5 separate regions of the Homo sapiens genome follow, and all the other regions are linked to region 4. The links are contacts of gene promoters, found by promoter capture Hi-C in blood cells and fetal thymus (Javierre and others, 2016). All regions are on one chromosome and are shown on one strand. Each heading gives the region's core, a stretch centred on a gene start or on the middle of the fragment in contact. The rest is flanking DNA. Distances are from core to core; before and after follow the strand shown. Region 1 overlaps TMEM164 (transmembrane protein 164). Region 2 has its middle 5.2 kb from the start of TMEM164. Region 3 overlaps GUCY2F (guanylate cyclase 2F, retinal). Region 4 holds the start of ACSL4 (acyl-CoA synthetase long chain family member 4). Region 5 overlaps TMEM164 (transmembrane protein 164).

Region 1 (2,700 bases), core at 67-2,566, 280 kb after region 4:
TAATTCTAGCCCAGTGCCTTCAGTCTCCTCATGTCCATCACATGCCAGTATTGGTATAAAGTCAGGGTGTATTTTGCCTGTGAATTGAATTGTCTTTGCCAATCGACCAGCTGTGTTTGCAGAAAGACTCTGACTGACTGTGTTCTGGCTGTTGCTAGCAAAGAGACATTTCATTCAGGTGCTGATTAAATAAGGTGCAGAGCCAGATTGCACATTAAGGCCCTTAACTATGGCTCTGGGAGTCCTGGGTAAACACTTATTAGATGTTCTGGGCAGAGCACAAAAAGGCTGGTAGTCAGGTGTTCTCTTCAGAAATCAGGTTGAAGGAAAATGGGGTAAAGAGAGACTTCTATAAAGAGTTTTGATCTTCTTTTCTTAACATTAATCAGATCTGAGTGGCTGGTGTGTACACATCAGGGCCAGATAAGTTTCCTCATTGGCATTTACTTGCCAAATTCTTGCTGGGACATTGTAGGCTTGGACTGGGATACAGCGGGGATCCTGACTTAAGTAGGGCAGTAGGAATGCTTCATTTTCCTAATGCAAGTTCAGCTTGGTGGATAGAGCCTTTGGACCATATTTCCTGGGTTTGGGTTTGAGCTCCATCACCATGTAACCTTAGGCATGTTACTTAGCTGCATCTGTAAAATGGGAATAATAATAGGGTTGTTGTGAGGGTTAAATAAAATAATTTAAATCAAGTATTTAGCAGAATTTCTGGCTTATTGTGTGCACTAAATAAATGTTAGCAGTTTTTAATAGTAATAGTATTACTTAACATTTCAAGATCATAGTGGTGTATTGGGTAAGAGTACAGGCTCTAGGGTGGTAAAAGCCTAGATTCAAATTCTACCACTAGCTCTGTAACCGTGGGCAAATTACTTAACCTCTCTGAGCCTGTGTTCCCACATTCATAAAATGATATGATCAAACTTGAACATTACCAGAGTTGTTGTGAGGATTAAGTGAGAAAAATGAGAAAATATTAATAAAGCATTTAAGATAGTATCTGGCACATAAGACACATTCAATACATTTAAATGATGATGATGATGATGACGATGATGTCGGCAACTAAGATGGTGAGGGTGATGATGACAGTCATCATCATTCTCACTATGGCTGCTGCTTCGAGCCTGGGTGCCTGTTGTTGCAATAAGATGGTAGGGATTTGATACAGGAAAGCTTTTCCAAGAAAATCTTCCCTGGCATCATAATTTCATGCAGTGGGCAAAGGTATTGGTTCCATGAAGTTAGCACCCATGTAATAATTTCTGCGGGACAGGGTTGTTTGGCTGTTTGAGGCTTAAGGACGTGTTTGTGGGTAATGTGAAGGTACTTTAAATTATCCAGTCCTTTCTGGGTGACTGGGTGATTCTGTTTAAAATGGCAACTCTTCTTACATCTCTAAGATTTAAAGAATTTAGAAGGTGGCTCTCATTGTTAGGAAGCTTAGCTTTCCGGGGACCTATTGGCTTAATTATTATTGCTCTTTATCAATGGGCTGGCTCCATGGTGCAAACTCTCTTGAGATTGGTAGTCTAGGAAACCAGTGAGTTTGTGACAGAAGTATGAAAGGAGTGAGCTTGGGGGAATGGGGTGGGCATAGACTGGTGAATGGGTTTTTTTTTTTGGTTGTTTCTTTTTTTTTTTTTTTTTTTTTTTACTTTTTCATTTATTTCTTTTGATTAAGGGGAGTGCAACTTTCTCCAGTGCCAACTATTACCAGAGCTGGGTAACTGTTGGAAGAGAAAGGGCCACCCCCAGAGCTCCTGGGTGAAAGGCAGGTTCAAGTGAACAAGTATCTTAGCTGAAGGAGAAGCACAGTATAGTGGAAACTGTGCTGCTTTCAGGAGAAGACTTCACTGTGCCTTGGCTTTTTGCATCAGCAAATGGACAGAAAAAAACCAATTATTCTTACATCTCCGGGATATGGTAATCCTCTCTCCTTAAGACCAGCTCTCCTCCTTTTCAAGACTTTGCTCTGGGGCCTCGTTTTCAAGACTGAGGTCTGGGGCCTAAGCCACCAATCACTAGAGAAGGATCCCCTTAAGAGCAGCCTTCTGGGGCCTAGACCTTGATCATGTGATTTCAGGCCTTGGGATGTGGGGGGTGTGCTGTATCCTGCCAAGGCCATTGGAAGGCCTCTGGGCATATTCCCAAGCATTGTGGGTAAGAAGGCTGTTTCTTAGTCTTGGAGGTGGGAGAATTGAGAAAGCTAAGGTCATGTTTTCTATAACCTGGTTCCTGGAAGAGGAGCTGGTTTAGAGGGCATTTCTAAACAAACAGCAACCCAAATAAACAGCAGCGCTTGGAAATTAGTTATGAAAGTTCACACATTCTAAGACCTAGGGAAGATTGTAACAAAGGGTCCTCTTCATATCAGCACTTGTTCATTGTTGGTTTGCATTTGTTAAGAGTTTCCTTTTTTAAGTTCCAGGAACTTGAGTGTGTGTGTGTGTGTGTGTGTGTGTGTGTGCGCGCCTGTCACTTTATTCTCTGCACCCTGCAGGAATGTTGCTCAGAGTCATGTGCACAAGTGCCTCATTATCAGCAGCGCTTTCACACTTGGTCCCTTGGGCTGCCACTGCTACTGGCTGCTGCTTCATGTGGGTATTTCTACCTATTTCCTGGAGCCCCAGCCCCACAGGGAATGTTGGCACCCTGAGGAAAGGGACCGCCTCTACATTTGGATCTCCC
Region 2 (2,700 bases), core at 89-2,588, 260 kb after region 4:
CTGACATACAGTAAAACGTACAACTCTAAAGTGTGCACGCTATGTAGGTTTACATATGTATACATCCATGTAACGTCACCCAGATCAAGACACAGAGCATTGCTGGCATTCCAGGAGGCTTCCTTCTTTTCCCTTCCCGTCAGTGTCTCTAGGGTATCTGCCATGCTGACCTTTCTCCCCATAGATGGCTTTACTTGGTGTTGAACTATGCCTGAATTCTTCTCACTCTCCTTGTTGGTAAAACTCACTTGACACATACAAGACTTGTTTTTGTGGTAGCAGCTCATATTTTCTTGGCTTGTGTTTATACTTCCCTTATTTATTGTTTTCTAACCTCCCTTGTTTGTGAGTATCTCCCTAGCTGAATTTTAAGCTCCTTGAGAGCAGACATTGCTCACAGGCAATAGAGCATTCCTATGAACATAATAGAGACTCAGAAAGTACTTACGGAATGAATGCTGGTGTCGAATGTTTTGCATGGTGGCAGAAGCAGTAAGCAGACAGTCAAATTAAGACAAAGACTTCTCCATCCTCCGTACATATGCAGTTTATTTTTACTGCTAACACTTCATATAATGTTGGGAGTGTGCATTGTTTTTTGCTTGTGAAAGATCATGTATGCATTCGACTCTCAGGTTCCATTGTGGACAGAGTGGTAGGAGTTGATTCAAAGAATAAAGTGCAGGAGGAGAAAAGGTAAGATGATGAAGTCAAAGGAACGAGCTTGCTCTGGCTCCTACTGTTGAAAGATCACTGGACCGGGAGTTAGAACCTCAAGTTCTAGTCCTCACTCTGCCACTAACTTGTGTGACCTTAGGCAAGTCACTTCACTTGTCTGAACCTCAGTTTGTCTGTGGTACAACAGAGGTAATAATTTCTGACACTTTGCACTCCACAGTAGGTCAGCTGTGTTCATAGCTGGGAGGCACTTTGGCCAAAAGAATTTAGAGCATTGTCTCCCCAGACTCCCCAGATCTCCAAGTCAGGTAGGTAGATTATCTTTCTGCTTTAAGATTCAAACCAGACTGGGATAAAAAGGTGGGAAGGTTGAGTTCGTAGAATCATAGAAGATTAATGCCAGCAGGTATTTTAGAGACCATTCTAGTCCAACCCTCTCATTTTGCTTCTGAGTACACAGAAGCACAGAGAGATTATTTTCCCCAAGGTTTCACTGAACCAAGCCTGGATTCTGGGTTCCGTTTTCACTGTTGTGCTTCAAGGATCTACTTAAAAAGCAAAGTTGATTTGCTCTTGTTACTGGTTGGCGACAAGAAAGCTCTGGCCTGTATCCCAGCAAAGATATGATCAGGACTTTTGCCTGCAGCTTTTGCAGTTCTAAATTCAACATACCATTTCACCTCAATTATTACCTGCCTTTTACTTATGGGGACAACAATCTCCTAGTGCTTATTTAGTGCCTACTAGGAGTTTGCCACTCTGCTAGGTGCTGTGGGTGGGGTTTAGAAAAGATTAAGATCCATTCCCAGCTCTCAAAGAGCCTGGTGTGGGAGACAAGAGTCACAATGAGAGAACAATGGAAGGCAGTATGTGATTCAGAATAAAATGAGTAGTGCAGGCAATAAATGCTGTACAAGTTCAGAGGAGGAAGAGAGCTCCAGGAGCTGAGGGAGGGGGATTGGGGGGAGTGAAATTTTACGTGGGCTTTGAAGGATGGTAGGATTGTTTATGCAAATGTGGGGGAGGGCGCTGAATTTGAGGTTGTGTGTGCGTGCACGTGCTTGGGTGTGTGTACACATGCAAATGCAGGGATGGGTAATAATAGGGAGCACTTAGTGAACACTCTCTATGCACCAGACACCACCTTATGGTCCCCAACATTCAGCTCATTTGACTGTGCATAACCTCATCAATTTGATAATAGTATCTTTCAATTAATAGATGAGGCAATTGAGGCACAGGGAGGTTGAGAGTAAATTGTCCAAGGTGACACAGCAAGTAAATAATATAAATGGGGTTAGATTCGAATCCATATCCTAAAAACACTTTGTTATTCTACTTGTAAACCCAGAATAAAATTTTAAGCCCCCTAAATGACTGAACAGACACACCCCCCAACACACACCCCCTACCTTGGCTAAGAGGACCTGGAAAGAAAACTTGAAAAACTAGCTCAGGCTGGCCAGATGCGGTGGCTCATGCCTATAATCCCAGCAGTTTGGGAGGCTGAGGAGGGCAGATTACCTGAGGTCAGGAGTTCAAGACCAGCCTGGCCAAAATGGTGGAACCCAGTCTCTACTAAAAATACAAAAATTAGCAAGGCATGGTGGCACATGCCAGTAGTCCCACCTACTCGGGAGGCTGAGGCAGGAGAATCACTTGAACCTCGGAGGCGGAGGTTGCAGTAAGCCGAGATTGCACCACTGCACTCCTGTCTAGGGGATAGAGTGAGACTCTGTCTCATGGAGGTTGGACTTTTTTTTTTTTTTTTTTTTTTGCTTAATGGGTATAGGAATTCTATTTGGGGTGATGAAAACTTTCAGAAATAGAGTAGTGATGGTTGCACATTGTGAATGTGATTAAAGTCATTAAATTGTACAATTAAAAATCGTTAAAACAACTAGGCGCAGTGGTTCACGCTTGTAATCCCAGCACTTTGGGAGGACGAGGTGGGTGGATCACTTCAGGCCAGGAGTTGGAGATCAGCCTGGCCAACATGGTGAAACACTGTTTCTACTGAAA
Region 3 (2,700 bases), core at 59-2,558, 260 kb before region 4:
GGAATCTTGTCAACTGGAGCTGGAGGCAGATTACTGTAGTTCTGGAACTAAAAACTCCTCTTGCCCTCATCCTCTTGTGATCATCATAATTAAGGTCCAATACTGAAGCCACTTGAAACTTAAAACAGGCTTCTGATTATAGGCCAGGCCTAAGCTGGACCATTCTCTAACAAACATTTCCTTAACAATGGTTAAGGAAATGACTGGGACCAGGACTAATCCTTGAAGGAATCAGTTTGTCAAATAGTTTCTGAGATATCCATCCTAAAGTGGTGGAGTGGCTGCAGTGGGGGAATGAGCAGCGTTCCCATGAATCATAGCCATCTCCAGAGGAAGGTAAAATGGAGGTTAAAAAATTGGAATAGAAAAAATCAAAACTAGGTGTCACAAGGGCTTGCCATAAGTGTGAGTAAAAGAGATCTGATTCAAGAGGACCAGAAAGGGCCCCCTTTTGCCAAAATGCACCCAACTAACTTTGAGAATGATAGCTTTAGTGGGTCAAGTCCTTTGCTTCACATTTTGTCTATCGTCTCTGCAAGAATCGTCTTTGAACATTAAGCTTCCATTGGAAGGGGAAACTTAAAATTTAGACAGTCTTTTCATTTTAATATGCTTTCATTCATCAGCTAGGTGCCCCCCATATCAACTAACTGTGTGCTGCAAAAAGAAAAGCCCTGCTTTGAGAAAAGGCAGAAGGTATGGACATTTCGGAGTCCACAGAAGACAGATTCTAAGTAAGTGTCCCACAAGGACACTGGGTACCGTTGAAGGAAAGTATCCAGAAGGGAGTCAAAAGTAAATCTCTCCTCAGTGACTAGAACAAACAAAAATGAAGCCATAAGAAGACCCGCGCCTCCCCATACCATTTTGGCACTTTCGAAGCTACCAAGGTCCTAAGGGCAGAAAGAAAGGATGTATGGCTACAGTGCTCTTGACACCATTCTTCACTCAGGCGCTAAGAGCAGGCACTAGCATTCACAGGCATATGAAGCACAGAGTTCTTTGTACTGTTATTCAGTTCATAAAATAGGCTCTGTTGAAGCAGGGCAGTCTTGGGACCTGTGTGTGAGTGAAAAAGGGCAAATGTGTAAAGAAATGGGAAGGGATGTGCTACCCTAGGGTGTGAGGGTAGGAAACCTTTTGGAGATTGTAATCTCTTTCCCTGAAGTCACGTTTAAATTTCAGCGGGAGAAAGCACTCACTGCGAATTCTGTCTGCCTGGTGAATCCTCTGGAGGGCTTTCCGCATGCTTTGGCTGTCTTGTCCTGTGGTCAGGACGACCCCTACAGGTAAGCCGTGGCTCCGAAGAGCACTTGCGACTCGATTGGCTGTATGCACCCAAATGTCTTCATCTGAGGAAATGACTCCAGCATGAGCCCACTGGAAATATTTCATGACAGTTACAAGCACCCGGATGGGAGAAGGGAGTGTCCGAGAAAAGGTCGGGTAGCTAATTTTATTGTCTAATTCATAATTCACACAAGCCCAAGAGAAAATTCCTTTGTCCCAGCTGTTTCCCAGGAGCGAGGCTGCCTCGCAGTAGCCAGGGTTGGTAGGTCCAATAAATCCTGAGGCCATCTGGTGGTGGGAAATGAAACTGGAGAGAGCCCTCGAAGTCTGGCAGTCTTCATTGAGAATCACGTATTCAAAAGAATAACTCAGGTCAAAAGATGGGTCCCGGTTGATTCGCTCAATGGCTAATCGCGCAGCAACCTCAGGCAGGGCCTTTGAAAACAGCGAATCACAAGCCCAAGGGCCCACCACCCCTATCTTGTAGGGGAGTGTCCACACCTGCTGCGGAAGGGACATGACAGACAGAAGGCACAAGCACCACAGGAACTTGGCAGATGCAAGGCCATGGTGTCCCAGCAGTTTCCTGAAAGCCGCAAACCAGAGAACAAGGCGAGAAAAGCGCCCGAGTCCCAGGAACATAGCCCTCCTGCTTCCAGCAAGCTAATGACGAGATACTGGAGAGTTATTCTGCTTTCCCGACACAGACGGTGGTGTTTCCAAATGCCTGTCAATCAGAGGAAAAGGTTTGTTACTCACATTATTTCTGAAGCTTCTGGAAATCATCGGTTGTGAAAGAATGGCAAAAAAAAAAAAAAAATGGCAGTGCCCAAACTAAAAGTTTCTTTCCCCCATCCTGACAAAACTCCTCCTCTTCCTGTACCCCGTATCTCAGTACATGGCACATCCATCCACTGTTTGCCCACTTGCTTCTTTCAGAAAACTGGAAATCACTGAGACTCCTTCTCTTCCCCCACATTCAATCTATCACCAATTCCTATTTATTCAACTTCAGTAATAGCTGCCCACCTTACAGTGTTTTGAAAATTACATGAGTTAACACACGGCAAGTGCTTATAACAGAGCCTGGCAAGTCATTGGCATTATATTAGACATAGTATCATTATTATAGTTTTCAATATGTCCATTTTTCTCTCCCATACAGCTCTCTTGGAGAGAAATAGATGTAAACAGATAATAACAATGCAGAGTAAAAAGTGCTATGATTGAGGTAGCCCAAACAGAGAGACAGAGAGGATCACCTAAACCCAGATTTCAGGGGAGGAGAGAAGGGAGGAAGAACAGTCTCTCTGGATTGAGTACTGAAGAAAAGTTAGCCAGGTGAATGAAGTTGCAGGAGTAGTTTGGTGCTAAGATGCTAAGAGCCTTCCAAACAGAAGGAACAACATG
Region 4 (2,700 bases), core at 105-2,604:
TGCTGCCTTACGTATCAAGAACATTTAAAAGTCTTTCTTGTTAGAGACAAAATAAAAGAAAAACTAAGGTGACAAGCGACTATGAGAAATAAGGCTTTAATCAGGTTAAATTTGCATTATGCAGCCTGCATGAATTTAGAGGTCCTAGAATCAAAACACTAGAAGGAACCTTTGATATGCTCTAGTTCAACAGACTGATTTTTGCAGAAGAGGAAACTGAAGCGCTGATGAGACCATTAACTGATAAAGCAAACCGCTTACTTTTTCAAAGGGATTCATTTCAATGCCATTTTACCCTTATTTTGCATCTCACTGTTGTTTCTCAGAGCGACGATTGACCTTTTTTTAGGTGAAAAGAGCGAATAGAGCGTATTAATTTCAAGAGGGTGAAAAATGCCTTTGAAGGAGGAGATGCTGGAGTGAAGAGGAGAAATGACGTCTTATTTAAAATATGTAACCCCTTGATGGGGTTAGACAATGAATCATATTCTCCTAGATTTTTCTATGTCTATAGACATCAGCCACAGTTCTTTCAGGCACTCAAACGAGAGGAAGAGGAAGTGAATAAAGCTCATACTAAATATATAGCACCCACTGAAGGCAGGGATGTAGACAGAAAGAACGGGGGTGGGGGAAGGAAGGAAAGCACGCTTCGCCAGGATCCAGCTGTTTTCTAACAAACCTAAGCCTACGGAAGCTAGGAAGATATCGGAAGCAAGGAAGATATCGGAAGCGACGGCATCCCTCAAATTCGAGAGGGCGGATGCCTCTAGGGCTAGAGAGGCTCCCTAGCCCTCAGTTACAGAGCGACTGGGAGGGGACAAAATGGAGTTGAGGTTTAGGGGCACCCTAAAGGTCGTTTGGAGGTCTAGCAAGCACTTCATGGTCTCCTCCGGAAAGGGCCGTGGCAAAGCCTAGTACCCCGATCAGGAAGATGACTTCTGGCCCTCGGGATGCGGTGAGCGGCAGGAAGAGGCAGGCTGGGGTTCCGAGGACCCCAGAGTCCATCACAGGAGCAGATACAGTGACCTCGGGAATCTTCCCGGCCCCAGCGGAGGCGAGCGGATAGATAGCCCTGGCTCAAGGAAAAAAGCGAGCCGACTCCAGGAGCTGGAATGCCCACCCAACCTCCTCCCGGCTCAGGTGAGGTACGCCAGTCCCCCTCTGGAAATGGGGCCCTGGTACCGACAGGGCAGGGGTGCCGGGGCCGCAACCTCCCCATCCAGGGATACTCACCGGAGGGGCGGCCCACCGCGTCTTCGCAGCCGGCCGGCGCCTGGCACTCGGAAAGCTCGCAAAAAGGAACCGCGTGCCCGCTAGCGCTGGGACGAGGAGGAGCGCGCGGCGGAGGCCAGAGAAAAAGCCGCAGCGGCGCGCGCGCACCCGGACAGCCGGCGGAGGCGGGACTCAGCGCGAGCCCGGAAAAGACGCGCCCGGAGGGGCGGGCGGAGCGGGGGCGCGCGGTGGTGTGGCAGAGCCAGCCGAATCGCTGGCTGCAGACGGCTCGGCCCACCCACGCGCCCGCCCCCGCTCGCCCGGGACGTCAGTCGAAAAGGCGGAGCCGAACGGGCTTCCCGGGGCGCGGGAGGGGCGCTGCGAGGAAGGCGAGGCGGCTAACGGCTCGCCTCAAGTTGTTGCTCCCGCTGGCGATCCGCTTCTGTCAGTCTCGCTGCTGGTGTCGTTGAGTGTGTTTCGGGATGTCCTTGCGCCTAACAGCAGTGAGGCGCAGAATTGGCCCACGCCCTCACCTGCGGCTTGCTTCGCAGGACTCCACCCCAGGATAAAAGTTCCCCTCGGGTCATCTTCCAGCTGCCCTCAAAAGACACTCATTTTTGGGTTTCACTGCTCCTCTTTAAGAGAGCTATCTTGAACACTTTGACTAAAAGCATCTTGCTCCTGTAAGCCTGAACTAATGCCTCTCATCCGTTTATCTTGCCTCTTACTGCGTTAAGATCCCCGCTCACTCCCACTGATGAAATATCACAAGGACGCAGGATTTTCACGTTGTCTTTCATTTCCACGATGGTATCATGGCAAAAAAACCCCCAACTGATAAGGAAAAGTCACCGCAGCTTTGTGACATCTTACTAGCCCTGATCATTGCTTATAAGCCGGTCATACGAATGCTGTTCCAACAGATGCAAGAAATTGCTATTAAAATTAAAATGCCAGCGAACTATCTGAGGGCTTCAAAAGGGACAGACCATAATTGCAAATGAGGCCTGATAAACTGCCAAGAATATATCACCCAAAAAAATAAATCTCAAGAATTCTTCCAGTTCCCTGATGCGTAATGGTGAACTAGCTTCCTGTTCCTGATGGTAATTGACATTTCACTTCACTTGCTGATTTCCATTTTCCCATAGAATTACCATTTGTGCTTGTGTGTGTGTATATATATATGTATATATAAAATGCCTTACCACCTGAGATTACAAGCTAGAGTAGTTCTTCAGTGTGCATCACAATTATCTGGGGTGCTTGTTGAAATGTAGGTACCTGGAGCTACAACCCCCAGGTATTTTGATTCTGATCTGGGTAGGGATAAGAAATTTGAATTTTTAATAAGCAGCCCAGGTGACACTAAAAGTGGTTAGCTGAGAGCACAGAGCTATAGTTTTTGTGTTACTACTCTAAAGCCATATTACCAATTCAATTTCCAAGAAACCCACCCACTTACATATAATATACCTATAAATA
Region 5 (2,700 bases), core at 131-2,630, 300 kb after region 4:
CCTGTGTTATTTAAAACTTGTTGGCATAACTCTTAATGCCTATGTGGTACTCCATCCTGTATGTAACTGGATCATAATTTACCTAGCCATTTCCTTTTTTTTTTTTTAGGGGGGATGGATTCTTGCTCTGTCACCCAGGCTGGAGTGCAGTGGCACGATCTCAGCTCACTGCAACCTCTGCTTCCCAGGTTCAAGCAATTCTTGTGCCTCAGCCTCCCAAGTAGCTGGGACTACAGGCTACCATCACCGCGGCCAGCTAATTTTTGTATTTTTTAGTAGAGATGGGGTTTTACCATGTTGTCCAGGCTGGTCTCGAACTCCTGATCTCAAGTGATCCGCCCACTTCGGCCTCCCAATGTGCTCCTATTTTTTTTTTTTTGCAGTTATAAACTTTAAAAAGTTTACTCTTGTACAAATCTTTGTGTTTCACATTATTTTGTAGGTCACTTTCCTTGAAGTGGAGTTACCAGGACAGGGGTATGGATGTTTTTAAGGAGCTTAATATCTCTTTTTTTGTTGTTTTTTTTTAAAAAAGGTAGTGCTTATGTACATTCCTACTAGCAGTGGGGACAGAGAGAGCCTCTTCCAACTCATCCTCACCAACATCAGATATTGTCACTAAAGCAAAATCTTTTTTTTAAAGCAAATTTTAAAAAAATGGCATCTAAGTTAATGTGTAATTCTTTGTTAAGGTGATTGGAGAAAAAGTTTCAAATGATTGTTGAATGATGAATGGGATCACATAGTTCTTCTTTGGCTCAGTTTTTCATAAATGTACCTTGGGCCCTAACTTGCTTCTCCTTTTCCTCATGCAGTTACCCCCTTTCATCTTTCTGGCTCCTTCTGTTAAAATTCTACTTATTCTTTAGGGCTCAATCCTATCTGTATTCATGTACCTGTCTGTGGAGTCCTCCCTAGTTCCTCCTACTCGATATGATCTCTTGCCTTTGAATCCCTGTAGCACTGTGTACCTCTCTTGTGGTATTTATGTCTTTCTGCCCCTTTTTTTGGTTATCTCTGTACTGGCTTTATGCCTATGGCATGGACACTGGGTAATGTTATCTTTGCATTGACTCCCAGAGCCTAGTAGAGAGCTTAGTGTACAATGGGCTGATTAGCCTATCAGAGCTATGTTGAAAGGTGCCTAAGGTCTGCTGCAGATGACCTTTCAAAATATTCGATGTTGCAATTACCTGTGATGTTTACAGAACGGATTGGGATCACTGATAAGAGATGCTTTGCTGGTTACTTAAGATGGGCTGTATCTATAAGTCCTAGTCACTCTTTTTTGTGAAATTTGAATCATCAAATTTTCCAAGTAGTGATAAAAAACAATTTTAGCATATGTTAGGCTATTCTCTTGTGTATCTGGTAGAAGTTTATGTGATGATGGAAATGTTTTATATCTGCACTGTCTGATATGGTAGTCAGTGGCCACATGTGGCTATTGTGCACTGTATATGTGGTTACTGCAAATGAGGAACTGATTTTTTTTTTCATTTTACTAATTTTAAATACTTTAAATAGCCACATGTAGCTAGTGGTAACCATATGGGACAGTGCAGGATAATGTAGAATATTTAAAGTTATGGTCTCTTTTTTATGGCCAAAAGAAGCTGGGTATGTATAGTGACCCACAGTAACATTGACATTGTAGTTTTCTGGAATTTTGGAGAGGCAGTCTAGACCCTGGTAGAGCCGTAGAGAGAGAGAGAGAGAGGGGAAGCCATAAGTTTGGTTCAAAATGGAAACTGATTCCAGCGGGAGGTGTATGTTGTGAGAAAAGGGAGATGATGCCAGATTGGTAGGATAAAGGCAGAGTACAATAAGCTGGAATACCTAGAGGAGACATATGGACATGATACGATTGGTGATAGGGAACCATTAAAGATTCATGAAAAGAGGAGTGATAGATGAGTGTGGTGTTGCAAGGTCACCTTTGCCAGGCGTATGAAGCTGCTGGGAAAGGATGTGAGTTATTGGCCCCTCCTTCAGTGGATAGGGTTGGGCAGTAGTGATTCACAAACTCCATCAAAACCCAGCCACATCAGAAAACACAAATGATTTATTTTTGCATTAGCTTCCAGTTATTGTGTGCCTTCCTGTGGTTCAGATATACACCACCATATATTGTGGAGGGCTTGTAGCTGGGGGGCTGTGGAGAATGGCCGCCTATGTGACAGGAGGCAGGCCAGTCACCTCTGCTTAGCCACAGGCAAAATTGCCATCTGTGACCCTGGTACCTTGAAAGGTGTGTCTTGAATGGCTCTTTGACTCTTCAGAAACAATCTGGGAGCCCATTCATTCTGTTCTCACTTGCCTGCTTCCTTTAAGGGCCGATAGCAAATTTCTAATTTTACTGTTAGGAGAATATTTTCAATCTCATTTTTTAACCTTTAAATTAAGTTGAACCTTTCAATTAAGTTGAATTAATATTTCTTCCCACTACCTACTCCTTACTGCCCTCACTCCGTCCTTTATTAGATTGCTTATATTTCCATAACTGCATCGTGACCTTAGCACATGGACTTAATCATTAACTATCGTATTCCTAAAGAACAGCCTTTGGACTCATTTTTTTTTTTTTTTTTTTTTTTTGAGACGGAGTCTCGCTCTGTCGCCCAGGCTGGAGTGCAGTGGCAGGATCTCGGCTCACTGCAAGCTCCGCCTCCCGGGTTCACGCCATTCTCCTGCCTCAGC

The links. The method cuts DNA at HindIII sites, captures the fragments that hold promoters and counts their contacts. A CHiCAGO score of 5 or more calls a contact.
Region 1: a contact is called between a fragment that was not itself captured here and the fragment with the promoter of ACSL4 in region 4, in 3 of 17 cell types (total B cells, neutrophils and naive B cells). The highest score is 6.7, in total B cells.
Region 2: a contact is called between a fragment that was not itself captured here and the fragment with the promoter of ACSL4 in region 4, in 9 of 17 cell types (neutrophils, non-activated CD4 T cells, total B cells and 6 more). The highest score is 15.8, in neutrophils.
Region 3: a contact is called between a fragment that was not itself captured here and the fragment with the promoter of ACSL4 in region 4, in 1 of 17 cell types (neutrophils). The highest score is 5.8, in neutrophils.
Region 5: a contact is called between a fragment that was not itself captured here and the fragment with the promoter of ACSL4 in region 4, in 1 of 17 cell types (neutrophils). The highest score is 11.1, in neutrophils.

What each region holds. Positions count from the first base shown.
Region 1 is chrX:110,013,103-110,015,802 of GRCh38, forward strand. All of the region lies in intron 2 of TMEM164 (transmembrane protein 164), which reads left to right. Among named protein-coding and RNA genes, the nearest start is that of TMEM164, 11 kb to the left of the region's middle. The HindIII fragment of the contact is 266 bases long and covers 1,184-1,449 here.
Region 2 is chrX:109,996,612-109,999,311 of GRCh38, forward strand. No RefSeq gene overlaps it. Among named protein-coding and RNA genes, the nearest start is that of TMEM164, 5.2 kb to the right of the region's middle. The HindIII fragment of the contact is 4,228 bases long and covers 1-2,700 here.
Region 3 is chrX:109,474,005-109,476,704 of GRCh38, forward strand. It overlaps GUCY2F (guanylate cyclase 2F, retinal), which reads right to left. Exons shown (of 20, transcript NM_001522.3): 2 at 1,203-2,017. The coding sequence starts at 1,932. Among named protein-coding and RNA genes, the nearest start is that of GUCY2F, 6.7 kb to the right of the region's middle. The HindIII fragment of the contact is 1,503 bases long and covers 558-2,060 here.
Region 4 is chrX:109,731,903-109,734,602 of GRCh38, forward strand. It overlaps ACSL4 (acyl-CoA synthetase long chain family member 4), which reads right to left and starts at 1,355. Exons shown (of 16, transcript NM_001318510.2): 1 at 1,237-1,355. It overlaps LOC105373311 (a long non-coding RNA gene), which reads left to right and starts at 609. Exons shown (of 1, transcript NR_158569.1): 1 at 609-2,700. RefSeq lists enhancers at 718-767, 828-967 and silencers at 1,090-1,210, 1,308-1,617. The HindIII fragment of the contact is 5,191 bases long and covers 1-2,700 here.
Region 5 is chrX:110,035,411-110,038,110 of GRCh38, forward strand. All of the region lies in intron 2 of TMEM164 (transmembrane protein 164), which reads left to right. Among named protein-coding and RNA genes, the nearest start is that of MIR652, 19 kb to the right of the region's middle. The HindIII fragment of the contact is 5,858 bases long and covers 1-2,700 here.